3 separate regions of the Homo sapiens genome follow, and regions 1 and 3 are each linked to region 2. Evidence: promoter capture Hi-C in human tissues and cell types (Jung and others, 2019). All regions are on one chromosome and are shown on one strand. Each heading gives the region's core, a stretch centred on a gene start or on the middle of the fragment in contact. The rest is flanking DNA. Distances are from core to core; before and after follow the strand shown.

The links. Contacts are between HindIII fragments. The study calls those that stand out against the background at their distance.
Region 1: a contact is called between a fragment that was not itself captured here and the fragment with the promoter of PRR14L in region 2, in 4 of the 25 tissues and cell types used here (dorsolateral prefrontal cortex, heart right ventricle, mesenchymal stem cells and 1 more).
Region 3: a contact is called between a fragment that was not itself captured here and the fragment with the promoter of PRR14L in region 2, in 1 of the 25 tissues and cell types used here (aorta).

What each region holds. Positions count from the first base shown.
Region 1 is chr22:31,926,392-31,930,676 of GRCh38, reverse strand. LOC105372998 (a long non-coding RNA gene) reads left to right here and starts at 584. Exons shown (of 3, transcript XR_001755494.2): 1 at 584-2,514; 2 at 3,367-3,578; 3 at 4,126-4,285. LOC124905102 (a long non-coding RNA gene) reads right to left here and starts at 3,403. Exons shown (of 2, transcript XR_007068064.1): 1 at 3,315-3,403; 2 at 3,093-3,227. RefSeq lists a silencer at 3,367-3,567. The HindIII fragment of the contact is 3,903 bases long and covers 1-3,843 here.
Region 2 is chr22:31,746,938-31,751,392 of GRCh38, reverse strand. PRR14L (proline rich 14 like) reads left to right here and starts at 1,261. Exons shown (of 9, transcript NM_173566.3): 1 at 1,261-1,400. RefSeq lists enhancers at 1,036-1,330, 820-1,379, 1,619-2,251. The HindIII fragment of the contact is 11,409 bases long and covers 1-4,455 here.
Region 3 is chr22:31,908,351-31,912,687 of GRCh38, reverse strand. No RefSeq gene overlaps it. Among named protein-coding and RNA genes, the nearest start is that of YWHAH, 34 kb to the left of the region's middle. RefSeq lists an enhancer at 20-519. The HindIII fragment of the contact is 4,251 bases long and covers 1-4,126 here.

The sequences.
Region 1 (4,285 bases), core at 643-3,142, 180 kb before region 2:
TAATCCCAGCACTTTGGGAGGCCAAGGCAGGAAGACAGCCCCAGGCATAAGTTCAAGACCAGTCTGGGCATCATAGTGAGACCCCCATTGCTACAAAAAATAAGAAAAAAATAGCCAGGCAGGGTGGCACACTCCTGTAGTCCCAGCTACTCAGGAGGCTCAGGTGGGAGGATCGCTTGAGATGAGGAGTTTGAGGATGCAGTGAACTATGATTGTGTTGCTATAGTCCTGCCTGGGCAACAGGGCAAGATAGCGTCTTGCTGGTGTTGTGGTGCATGCCTACTCAGGAGGCCAAGGCAGGAGGATTGTTTGAGCCTGGGAGCTTGAGGATGCAGTGAGCTATGATCGTGCCAGTGTACTCCAGCGTGGGCAATGGAGTGAGACCCTGTCTCAAAAAATTAAAAAAAAAAGATTTCATACTAATCACAACTTTGGTACACCTCGAAATCATTTTTGTTACTCTCTGCAATATGGATCATGTCTCTTTTTATATAAAATATAATATGTATACATTTATAAATTTATAAAATACAAAGATGGAGTTTCACCATGTTGGCCAGGCTGGTCTTGAACTCCTGGCCTCAAATGATCTGCCCACCCTGGCCTCCCAAAGTTCTGGGATTACAGGTGTGAGCCTCCACGCCCGGCTGATCATGTCTCATAAATAAGGCCACAAATACTTTGCTGCTCCCCTCACATCAAGAAGTGGCATCCCTTTCCTTGCCCTTTGGATCTGGGCTGGGCTTGTGACTTGCTCTGACAACAGAATGTGGCAGAAGTGACCCTTTATGAGTTCAGGAGCTTAGGCCGCAAGAGATCTTGCAAGCTTGTGCCTTCCCCCTCTTGGAATGCTGCTCCTAGACCACCACATAAGGCAGCTGGTCTACCAGCGGGAGGATGGGAGGCCACGTGATAGGGATCTGAGACACCCCAGCCAACAGCCAGCACCAACCACCAGATGTGTGTGAGAGGCCTTCTTGGACCTTCCAGCTCAGCTGTGACTCCAGCTGAATGCAGCTGCATGTGTGACCAGGAGAAACGGGCAGAGGAACCACTCAGGCCAGCCAGACTCATAAAAAATAACAAATGGTTGTTGTAAGCCACTAGGTTTGGGGGTTTGTTAGGTGGCTATAGATAACCAAGACAACTGCCTCCTCCTCATTCAGGTGCCTGCTCCCTTCCCCTTCAGTCCCTTCCCTCCCCCCTCAAACCCCCACCAATTGCTGTTTATGCCGTTATCCTGTTTCATCCTGTCCAAGGCATTTATCACTGTCTGAAACCATGATGTATTCACTTATGGACCTGCAGTGCATTTCCGCCACGAGGCTGCAGTTTCCATGAGGGCAGGGGCCAGAATGGTTTGTTCCCTACCATCTCCCTTGAGCCTGTGTGTGTGGTGTCTGGCACAGAGAAGCTGTGTAATTGTTGATGGAGAGATTGTGTGCCTGCCCCTTGCTGCTGTGGTGCTTGGGGGAGCAGCGTGGCAGGTGGGAACTCCTGCCTGGTTGTGTCTTCCAAAACCGGTGCCCTTGGGAGGGCAGGAGGGCAGGCCAGGTGTCTGGGCTGTGTTTCAGGGGCAAGAGCTTCAGGGAGCCCAAGTTGAGTAGGAAGAAAAGGAAACTGCCAAAATGTTCATTTTCAGCAGGGGCTTAGATTCAGGCCAAGGAAGTTACTGGGGCTTCTCTCCACCAGGTCAGCTGCAAATTACCAGCAGCCCAGCCACGCCCTTCTGTAAGATCACCAAGCTGAGAAACTGGGCAATGGGAGAGAGTGTTGGGGACACTGAGTCACTTCCCAGGGGCCAACTATTTCCAAGTCCCTCAGAGTCCTCAGAGTCTGCTTTTTCCAGTGCCAAGGAATTGGTCCAGTAGCCACAGCTTCAGTTGAGGAAAAAATGCATACCCAAGAGAAAAAGAATCAGCTCCAGGGTGCCTTTTTCTTTTCTTTTCTTTTTTTTTTTTTTTTTGAGACGGAGTCTCATTCTGTCACCCAAGCTTGAGTGCAGTGGCGTGATCTCAGCTTACTGCAACCTCCGCCTCCCGGGTTCAAGGGATTCTCCTGCCTCAGCCTCCTGAGTAACTGGGATTACAGGCATGCACCACCACTCCTGGCTAATTTTTGTATTTTTAGTAGAGACAGGATTTCACCATGTTGGTCAGGCTGGTCTCGAACTCCTGACCTTGTGATCCACCCATCTCAGCCTACCAAACTGCTGGGATTACAGGAGTGATTCCAGGTGCCTCTTTTAGCTATCATTCTGCATTCTGTGGGAACAGAGAGAGCATCACCGTAGTTCAAGCCAGGCTCCTTTAGGTTAGGTGGACTTGTGTTGGTATTATGTCTCCATGACTGTGTGACCTTGGGGATGCGGCTTGACCTTCCTGAGCACCAGTTTCTGCATCTATTAGGAGTGGACAGTGAAGACCGAACTCCTAAGGTTGTGATGAGAATTCAATGAGAACATGCATGCCCAGCACAGCTTCAAGCACACAGAAACAGTAAAACCGATTGCAGGTAAGCTTGTGAGTACTTCTTCACCTGTTGGCAAATGGGGGTTGAGGGGAAGAGCAAGGTTTGCAGTTAAAAACAGACCCTTCCTGGAGACCAGGGTCACATTGAGGGGTTGCCTGGCTGAGACTAGGGCTATGGTATGAACCCTTGGTCCACAACGGACTGCCTGATTCTAACTGGCTTCTGTAACAGAGGAGACCACTCAGAGAAGCCCTCAGAGGGCCTCCAACCCTCCTGGAACCCCCCTGGTATAGATAGGTCAGTGGTTTGGAAGGTAGACCTCTGACAAGGATTCAGAAGGCCTGGGTTAAAGGCCCGGCTCTGGCACTAATGTGCTGTGTGTCATGGAACAAATAATTTGCCTTCTCTGGGCTCTAGTGTCCTCATCTATAAAATGGGTCATTAATCTCTGACTTACCGAACTCATAGGGTTGTTGAGATGATGAGATAATTTAGATGAAAGACTGCTTTGAAATGCATTTGCTGTTTGGTGAATAAAAAGGGGATAGATATTAAAACTGAGAGGACCCCTGGATTCTCTAGCAAAGCCCCTCTAAAGCCTTTAAACCAGGCAATATAAATACGAGTTCAAACCCTGGCCTTTATTAGTAACTTGCACGACTTTGGGCGAATGAGTTAAACTCTGGCACTGCTAGTGGTGTGATTTTTCTTCTGAGGGAGACAGGACCCATGGAGCAAGAAAAGGCTGGAAGAAGCTGCAAGATACAGGGTAGACAAGATGAGGAGGAGAAGCCCGCCAGCCTCCAAAACCCCTGGGCAACTGGTGGCGGGGAGGTTCCCACCTGACTGTGAGCTTAGGTGGGGGCTACCTGTTCCCCTTTCCATCCCCCACAGGCAGTTCTCTGGATCTCAGCCCACCCCAGGTAGATGGTGACTCAAGTTGTTCTGCAGAGACTGGTCCCCCTGCCTCTGTTGCCATGGCACTGCAGCACAGCCTGGCCAATCAGGAAGGAGATGAGTATCTGAGTCTCTGTTGCTAAAGCTGGAGCAGGACACCTAGCCAATGGGAAGGGCAGCAGAGTGGAGCCACCATGGAAACCTAAGCAGTGAGGTTCAAACCATGTTTTTTGTCTCTATGTCTCATTTTCAGGGGGTGGGCTGGGTTTTCTGCATTCCTTTTTTTTTTTTTTTTTTTGCAAAGAGCATCTTGCAACCCCAGGAGGATATTCAGGAGTCACGACTGGGTGCATGACAAGAGGCATCTTTAAAGAGTCAGAAAGGACTCCAACTCAGCAGGGCACAGCTTCAGATGAATTATTCCCCCAGATGCTCAGCATCACCTGTGTCTATGATCTTAGCTCATCGCCACAGCTCTACCTAGCCCCACTGTCCTAGGAAATAACTGCAGGCTGCAGAAGAATCCCCACCCCCAAAGTAAGAAAAGGAATGTGGGGTCACCTCCTTATGCCCAATAGCTTTGTGGCTTTGGACAAACTCCTTAACCTCTCTTCCTGTAGGCAAGGTAGTAGAGTAGCATAGAGACATGGGTCAGACACGGGGGCTGCCCCAGTGTAAAATTAGAAGATTGGGAAAATGGGCTCTGTGATTCCTTTCAGATCTCACATTCTAGACTTGATGATTTTTCACCTTCAGGCTCTGGATAAAGTGGATCTACAAGAAATAACTTCCCAAGGAGGAGTCCTGTAAATAGCATGAGTGGACAAATACGACTCAGGCTGCTTTTTGCCATGAAATTGCCAGACAAGGAGGGATGTCTGTTTCAGAGTCCTGGGCCAGGGGAGTGAAATCACAC
Region 2 (4,455 bases), core at 12-2,511:
AGATCCTACCACTGCACTCCAGCCTGGTGTCAGAACGTGGCCCCGTCTCAAAAAAAAAAAAAAGAAAGAAAGAAACGAAACTTTGAAGCATTCAATTTTTTTTTTTTTTTTTTTTTTTGAGACAGTGTCTTGTTTTGTTGCCCAGGCTGGAGTGCAGTGGGGGCACCATCATAGCTCAATGCAGCTTCAAACTCCTGGGCTCAAACGATCCTCCTGCTTCAGGCTCCCCAGTAGCTAGGAGCACAGGTGCATCAACACCTGAGCAATTTTTGTTTTGTTTTGAGAAAGAGTCTTGCTGTGTCATCCAGGCTGGAGTGCAGTGGCACTATCACTGCTCACTGCAGCCTCAACCTTCCAGCCTCAAGTGATCTTCCTGCCTCAGCCTCCAGAGTAGCTGGGATTACAGGCACACATCACCAGACCCAGCTGTTTGTTTTTTGGCAGAAACGATGTCTCACTATGTTGCCCAGGCTGGTCTCAAACTTCTGGGCTGAAGTGCTTCTCCCGCTTTCGCCTCCCAAAGTGCTGGATTACAGGCGTGAGACACCGCGCCTGGTCGATTTCTATTTTTTAACACAAAGCCGTATTATTTGGGGCAAGTCGATTTCATTATCTGGACCTCAATTCTTCCACTGGATAAACATTTCTTCCTTCCTTCAAATGTCCATTGAGCGTCTAGTTTTGTGCCGGACACTGCTCTTGGTGCTGAGCATTAAGTGATGAACAAAACAGACAAGGTGGAGGAAGATAAATGATAAACAAGTCAATAAAGAGATGAGACATAGAAATTTCAGCTAGTGTTAAAGCTATGAAGAAAATAAAACAAGGTTCTGTAACCAACTGGAGGCAGAGGTGCCATTTATTTAGTGGTCAGTGTGATTAGAAGAAGCAGAGGAGTGTCATGACCCAAAACACTCTTTCCAGTAGAATAAGATCTCTCGGGCTGCCAGAGTGGAAGCAGGCAGGCCCTTAGAATTGTAGCCGTCCAGACTAGAAAAACGGTGGACTGGAACAGGGTGACAGCAGCGAAGGCCGGCACTGGGTCCTGTGGCTCAGCAGGAGCAGAACCAAAAGTTGTGTTTCCCTTTAAGAGTTTGAGCCGCAGGGGCGGGGTTGAGGGAGGCTGGGGCTAGCAGAGGGCGGGAGGTCAGAATCAGGAAGAGCCTTCCCTTGGAGTGCGCGCGCGCGGTGCGGGGGCGGGATTTGGGCGAGTCCGCATGGCTGGCTCGGGCCCCGGATGAGGAAGTGCAGGGGGACCATAGAGACGAAGAGGTGGCGGCGGCCGGAGCGCCCCCGGCCTCTGTCGGCTCCGTAGGCTCAGGTAGACCTGGCGACGACGGGGCTGCAGCTGCAGGGGCTGAGCTGGCTGGGCAAGCGCGGGCCGCGGAGGAGGTCTCAGGGTAAGAGGCCGGGACTGGAAGGCTTCGGGCGTAGCCGCCCCGCCCCACTCCGCCCTAAAGGGACCCTCCGCCGGGTGGTGCTGCTAAAGGGGAGTCCAGGCCCCCCGCCCTCTCGGGGCGCGGAAAGGAACCAAGGCTGCCCTGTGGGCGGCGGAACGACCCAGGGAGAGGGAGGAGACCAGGCCCCGCGTCGCTAGAGAAAAGCGGCTTCTCCGAGTCATGGCTCCGACGCGGGAGAGAGACTCCTCTTCAACCTCGATACAACAGGGATCCCCCAACTTATCTCCTCGGAGAGGACGACGCCCCTTATCGGAGGCGTACGCTCTTTCTTAGCGCTCATCCGTTGGTCAGCAGAGGGAGACCCACTCCCAGGGTTCGAGGGGGATTCTGAACTTATCCTGAGGAGGAGTAAAAGATAACCCCTAAATGAGACCTTTCCCCCAACTTTGGTCAGCGTCACCCAGGTGAAGAGTGAGACCCAACTTGCCTGAAAGTGACAGAGGGGATCTTTCTTCCCAGTAAGAAAGAGACTTACCTTCCTCCTTTATTTTTCGCCTGTACCCCAAGATACGGAGAGGAAGACCTTGAAATTTTACTTTATGGTATCAGAAATCAACCTTTCTCCCTCTCCCCTCGTGATGTCCACAGAGAGACCCTCGCTTCTCTTCTTCCCTTTAAGCCTCTTGGTGTGCAGTGAGCTCCTTTCCCTTGCATTATTAAGAGCATGGCTTTTGGAGTGTAATCGTTGCAAACCTGGGTCTCTCACTTAACGTCTTTGTGACCTTGACTATTTGTTTAACTTGTCTGAATCTCAGTCCATCTCCAATTTGGGTTCTGTTTTCTTAGAATTGTCATGCGGGCTAAGGGAGCATTTGTGTAAATACTAGTTATATAGTAAGCTTTTGGTAAGCTGTTGCTATTACTATTACTTAATCTGTTAAAAAAGAAAACTAATATCTTGCACAGAGAAGCATATTTTTCCATGCATGCCCCTCGCAGCCTCCATCACAAGTGTTCAACCATCCTTTCTCACTGGAGTGGAAGACTCCCTCCCACTTAGGGGTTAGAGAAAGAGACACTTCCAGTCCCCTTAGATCCTGCTGTTCAATACTTTCCCAAATTAACAAAGAGGGCCTCACTGAAAATAATCAGTAAAAAAAAGACTTAGCTTTTGGAAACAGGTCTGTGCTCTTAAGAGAAAGTGAGACCTGATGCCAGACGCCAGCACTTCCTTTGTCCACAGAAGGTATCACTTCTTCCTGACTGGTTAGAGATGCCCTCTCCCACTTCCCTGACTTACTGTAGTGACAAAAAATCTTCCATCTGCACATCCTTCCCACCCCCCCAAGTGGGCGATTCCATATTCTTCCTGTCTTTTGCTCTCCCAAGAAAATGAAGACTCTATACCTTTGAGGAGAGATCTCTTCCCTCTTGTATATGGAAAATGACACAGATTGTTTCTTTTCTCCTTTTCCTTTATAAAACAGAGGAAAATCTTTTATACAGGAAGCCTCTGTCAGTAGAAATCAGGAGCATTTTCCAGTTTCACTCCTTACGTGGAGACAGGGATCCTTTTTCTGGATGTTATTAAAGGGAGGAAATGGGAAATAGTCCTTGATGCTTTAGAGATTTTCTGCACGCTCCATGTTGAAGCGCTTGCCCTGTTTAGTGTATGAACTTCCCTGCCTCACTTTTGGTTTGTCTTGGGATTTTATTAAAAAACTCTTCTTTCTTTGTTTCTCAAGAAGAGGCCCATTCTCCAAATTCCCTCTTGGAGGGAATGGCTACAATGTCTGAATCTTTGGAAAAGAAAGCCCCTTTCTCAAGGTGAAAAGAGTGTTGTGAGCTTCTGAGGGCCTGGTCATTATTGTGAGTATTGTTCCTGAAGCAAGCATGGCAGCGCCTAGTGTTATTAACAGCCCCTATGCATTGGAATTAAAGGGAGGGGAGACTTTCAGATTCGGGATTATTGAGGCACACGGTTTTATGTTCTGTTTTTTTTTTGCTTGTTGCTGTAAATTTTGTACCTCCAGAACTTTTGTTTTGGGGAGTGTTTGAATGACTAAAAGTTGCCACTTTGTCAGGTTTTTAGTGTTATAAAATGTATTCTGATGAGATTGAGAGCAACAATGTTAATCCTTCACTGGTAGGTTTGTTTTCCTGTTTTTGTTTTTTTTTTTTTTTGGTGGGATAGGAATTAACACTGCCAAATTACCTGAAAGCACACTAAAGAAACGCTTACCATCTTTTTTTGTATGTAAAGTGTTCTTAAATTACCTCAAACGCCGTTGAGTAATTGCAGAGGGGATTAGTGGGAGCTCTATACCACCATTGTTGGTGTCTGTAGGTGTGCTTTTCTGAAACAAAGGGAAATAGAAAAGTTATTCTTTGGAGTCTTAGGATATTTATGGGTGACAAGACCCTTTGAGCTTATTTTGATGAACATGTGAAAAACAAGCCCGGGAAAGTTCACTTAACTTTCACTTAACACACTCAAGACTCTGCATCTAGTATGTGAGAGCAGGATAAGGGACCCTGGCTTCCTGATGAAGAGACCAGCAGTTAAGACTGCTGGGAGAGGCCAGGCGCGGTGGCTCATGCCTCTAATCCCAGCACTTTGGGAGGCCGAGGCGGGTGGATCACCTGAGGTCGGGAGTTTGAGACCAGCCTGACCAACATGGAGAAACTCCATCTTTACTAAAAATACAAAACAAATTAGGTGGGCATGGTGGCACATGCCTGTAATCCCAGCTACTAGGAAGGCTGAGGCAGGAGAATCGCTTGAACCTGGGAGGCAGAGGTTGCGGTGAGCCGAGATCATGCTGTTGCACTCCAGCCTGGGAAACAAGAGTGAAACTCTGTCTCAAAAAAAAAAGACTCCTGGGAGAGGGTCAGGCGCGGTGGCTCACACCTGTAATCCCAGCACTTTGGGAGGCCGAGGCGGGCGGATCACAAGGTCAGGAGATCAAGACCATCCTGGCTAACTCAGTGAAACCCCGTCTCTACTAAAAATAAAAAAAATAAAAAAATTAGCCAGGCGTGGTGGCGGGCACCT
Region 3 (4,337 bases), core at 752-3,251, 160 kb before region 2:
CCAATGTTTCTCCCAGATGAGTTCAGATGAAAATTCTGGGGCTCAGGGAGAAAAGACTTTTCCAGAGATTGCATAGCAATTCCCCATCTCCCCTCATCCCCATGGGAAAAGAGATTTTCTTGTTGGAAGGACTATGTGCTGATTCACTGAGGAAACAGGAATCTTGCTGCAGCCAGAGAAGCAGATGGAGGTCAAATCTGAAGGCTGGTAGGACTCAGTACTCGGCACCAGCTTTTGCTACATGCAAATGCTACATCCCAGGCATTTCAGGCCAGGTTTAGGGCAAGTGTGTGGCACAGTCTGAAGGCCAGGAGCTGCCTGAAGCACTTGCAGGCTGAAGCCACAGCTGCAGACCAGAAGAGAGGGCACACACAGTGCCTTCCAGATAGAAGCCTGGCAGGGAGGAAAGGCCACTGGTCCTGCCTCAAAGTCACTGAGTCACTGCCCATTCCCTACCAGAGAACCTGTATATGAGGCCATGTCTACATGTTACACTGCATCTGTACCCATGCAGAGATTCACCATACACGTAAGGCAGTCAGTTGAAAGGAACGAAGGGGTCCCCAGGCAGGAACCCAGGATGGAGCAGTGGGTGGCATCTCATTGATACAGCACCACAAAAAGGTGAAGAGGGCAGCACAGTTGGTGGTGACTGGGCTGATTCCCATGAACCTGATTCCCAGTCCAGCTGTTTGTTAGCGTATGGGCGTGGACCCTACTTCCTGGGGCCTTCCACCCCTCAGCTGGTATGTTGATAAGATTATACAATGAGTCAGGTGCAGTGTCCCATGCCTGCAATCCCAGCACTTTGAGAGGCCGAGGTGGGTGGATCATTTGAGGTCAGAAGTCCGAGATCAGACTGACCAATATGGTGAAACCCTGTCTCTACTAAAATTACAAAAATTAGCTGGATGTGGTGGCATGCCCTTGTAGTCCCAGCTACTGGGGAGGCTGAGGCAGGAGAATTGCTTGAACTTGGGAGGCAGAGGTTGCAGTGAACCAAGATTCTGCCACTGCATTCCAGCCTGGGCAACAGAGCAAGATCTCGTCTCAACAACAACAACAAAGATCATGCAATGAAAAGGTGTATGACACATTGCCCAGGACACAGGAAGCACTCAATGGAGTGACCATTGTTATTCTGTGTTTTTCTGAACTTTTCTGGGTAACTGAAGAGGCCTGTAAAATGGCTTCTATTCAGCATTCCCTCCCAGTATTCGCTATCTGCTTCAGCAAGGCCTCACAGATTTGCGCAGTGTCTCTGGCATACATCATGTATCCCTTCCTTTTTTTTTTTTGAGACAGGGTCTCCCTGTCGCCCAGGCTGGAGTGCAGTGATGCGATCTCGGCTCACTGCAACCTCTGCCTCCCAGGTTCAAGTGATTCTCCCGCCTCAGCCTCCTGAGTAGCTCAGATTACAGGCGCCCGCCACCATGCCTGGCTAGTTTTTGAATTTTTTTTTTTTTTTTGAGACAGAGTCTTGTTCCATCGCCCAGGCTGGAGTGCAGTGGTGTGATCTCAGCTCACTGCAACCTCTGCCTCCCGAGTTCAAGCAATTCTCCTGCCTCAGCCGCCCGAGTAGCTGGGACTACAGGCACGCACCACCACGCCCAGCTAATTTTTGTATTTTTAGTAGAGATGGGGTTTCACCATGTCGGCCAGGATGGTCTCGATCTCTTGACCTCTTGATCCACCCGCCCTGGCCTCCCAAAGTGTTGGAATTACAGGTGTGAGCCACTGCGCCCAGCCCTAACTTTTGTATTTTTAGTAGAGACAGGGTTTTACCATGTTGGCTAGGCTGGTCTCGAACTCCTGACCTCAGGTGATCCACCCACCTTGGCCTCCCAAAGTGCTGGAATTACAGGCGTAAGCCACCGTGGCCGGCCCTAACTTTTGTATTTTTAGTAGAGATGGGGTTTCACCATGTTCGCCAGGCTGGTCTCAAACTCCTGACTTCAGATGATCTTGGCCTTCCAAAGTGCTGGGATTACAGTCGTGAGCCACCGCACCTGGCCTGTATAATCTGGTGATAGGCTTCTGATCGGCATGCACATGTCCTCCATGTCTGACCAAACCCACAGATTCCCTGTGGGCTGAGCTTTGTACCTACAAAAAGGTGGATGAGTCTAAGAGACAGGATGAATGGATGGGAGGACTGGAGGATGATGGAGGAGGAAGGCACTGGGTTTGACTACCAGATTCTGGCTTGGACAAGTGGGTGGAAGGAGATGCCCACCAGAGAGAGGAGGAATCAGGAAAGTAGGCAGCAAGGAGACTGGGGCTCATGGGCAGGAAAGTTTGAGGTCCCGCTCTGATGGGGGAGTGACCCAGCATCCTAACGCACCAGCCGCCCCTTCTTCCACCAAATCATTCTGTGGGCCTTCTGCTGGGCAATTGCAGGGGCAGTTTTGGCCTCACACACAGGACACTGAGGATCACAAGTGATTGTTCAGTTCGTATGTGATCTGAACAGGCCAGCGTTTGCTGTGTCCAGCACCATCACTCAATGGCTTGAGAGCACAATGGAGACTCCCATCCAGGAATGTGAGAGCAGCTGTTCAGCTGTTTGAGAGCAGACATTTGCTTACTGTCTTTTTGTAAGACCTTTCATATACGTGGCCTTTTTTTTTTGAGATAAGGTCTTGCTCTGTCACCCAGGCTGGAGTGCAGTGGTGCAATCACAGCTCATTGCAGACCTCCTGAGTTCAAGCGACCTTCCCACCTCAGCCTCTCACGTAGCTGGGATGACAGGTGTGAGCCACCATGTCCAGCTAACTTTTGTTTTTTCTTAGACGGAGTCTTGCTCTGTCGCCCAGGCTGGAGTGCAGTAGCACAATCTCGGTTCACTGCAACCTCCATCTCCCGGGTTCAAATGGTTCTCCTGCCTCAGCCTCCCAAGTAGCTGGGATTATAGGTGCACACCACCACGCCTGGCTAATTTTTGTATTTTTCATAGAGATGGGGTTTCATCATGTTGGCCAGGATAGTATCAAATTCCTGACCTCACATGATCCGACCACCTCGGCCTCACAAAGTGTTAGGATTACAGGCATGAGTCACTGCACCCGGCCCCAAGCTAATTTTTTATTTATTTTATTTTATTTATTCATTTTTTTTGTAGCGACGGGGTCTTCCTATGTTGCTCAGGCTGATCTCAAATTCCTGGGCTCAAGTGATCCTCCCATCTCAGTCTCCCAAAGTGTTGGGATTACAGGTGTGGGCCGACCGTGCCCAGCTACATGTGTCTTCTGATTCTCCAACCACCCAAGGAGATAGCTTCCCATTTCATAGATGAGGGGATTTACATATCTTAGAAAAGGGAAGGTGAAAAAGGAAAAGAAAACAGGTTTTTATCAAAGGCCTGCTCCATTTCCAGGAATTATCCAGGGCTCTTTCACATATATTAACAAACCTATTCTCTCAAAATCATTACATGCAGCATCCATAGCCACGTTTTAAGTTCTAAATAAGTTCAAGTTCTGTGAAGTAACTAAGGAGCCTAGCTAGGAAGGTGGAGACTCAGATGTAAAATCCAGTGCCCAGGCCAGGCGCGGTGGCTCACGCCTGTAATCCCAGCACTTTGGGAGGCCGAGGAGGGTGGATCATGAGGTCAGTGGATCGAGACCATCCTGGCCAACACGGTGAAACCCCATCTCTACTAAAAATACAAAAATTAACCAGGCGTGGTGATGTGCGCCTGTAGTCCCAGTTACTCAGGAGGCTGAGGCAGGAGAATCGCTTGAACCTTGAACCGGAGGCGAAGGCTGCAGTGAGCCACTGCACTCCAGCCTGGGTGACAGAGGAAGACTCCGTCTCTAAAAAAAAAAAAAAAAAAATATCCAGTTCCCAGCCCTGGAATCCAAAGTTCATTCAGTTACTATACATTCAGTCAACAACCATTTCTCCAACATCTACTATTATCATGTACACTTGGGAACAAAAAGATGAACAAAATAGAGAAGCTTTGGCTGGGCACGGTGGCTCACGCCTGTAATCCCAGCACTTTGGAAGGCCGAGGCGGGTGGATCACAAGGTCAAGAGATCGAGACCATCCTGGCTAACACGGTGAAACCCCGTCTCTACTAAAAATACAAAAAATTAGCCGGGCATGGTGGCGGGCGCCTATAGTCCCAGCTACTCGGGAGGCTGAGGCAGGAGAATGGCATGAACCTGGAGGCGGAGCTTGCAGTGAGCTGAGATCGCACCACTGTATTCCAGCCTGGGTGACAGAGCCGGACTATGTCTCAAAAAAAAAAAAAAAAAAAAAAGAAAGAAAGAAAAAAAAAGAAGCTTCTGCCATGGTAGAGTGTAAACATGTTGAGTACCATGCTGGAGAA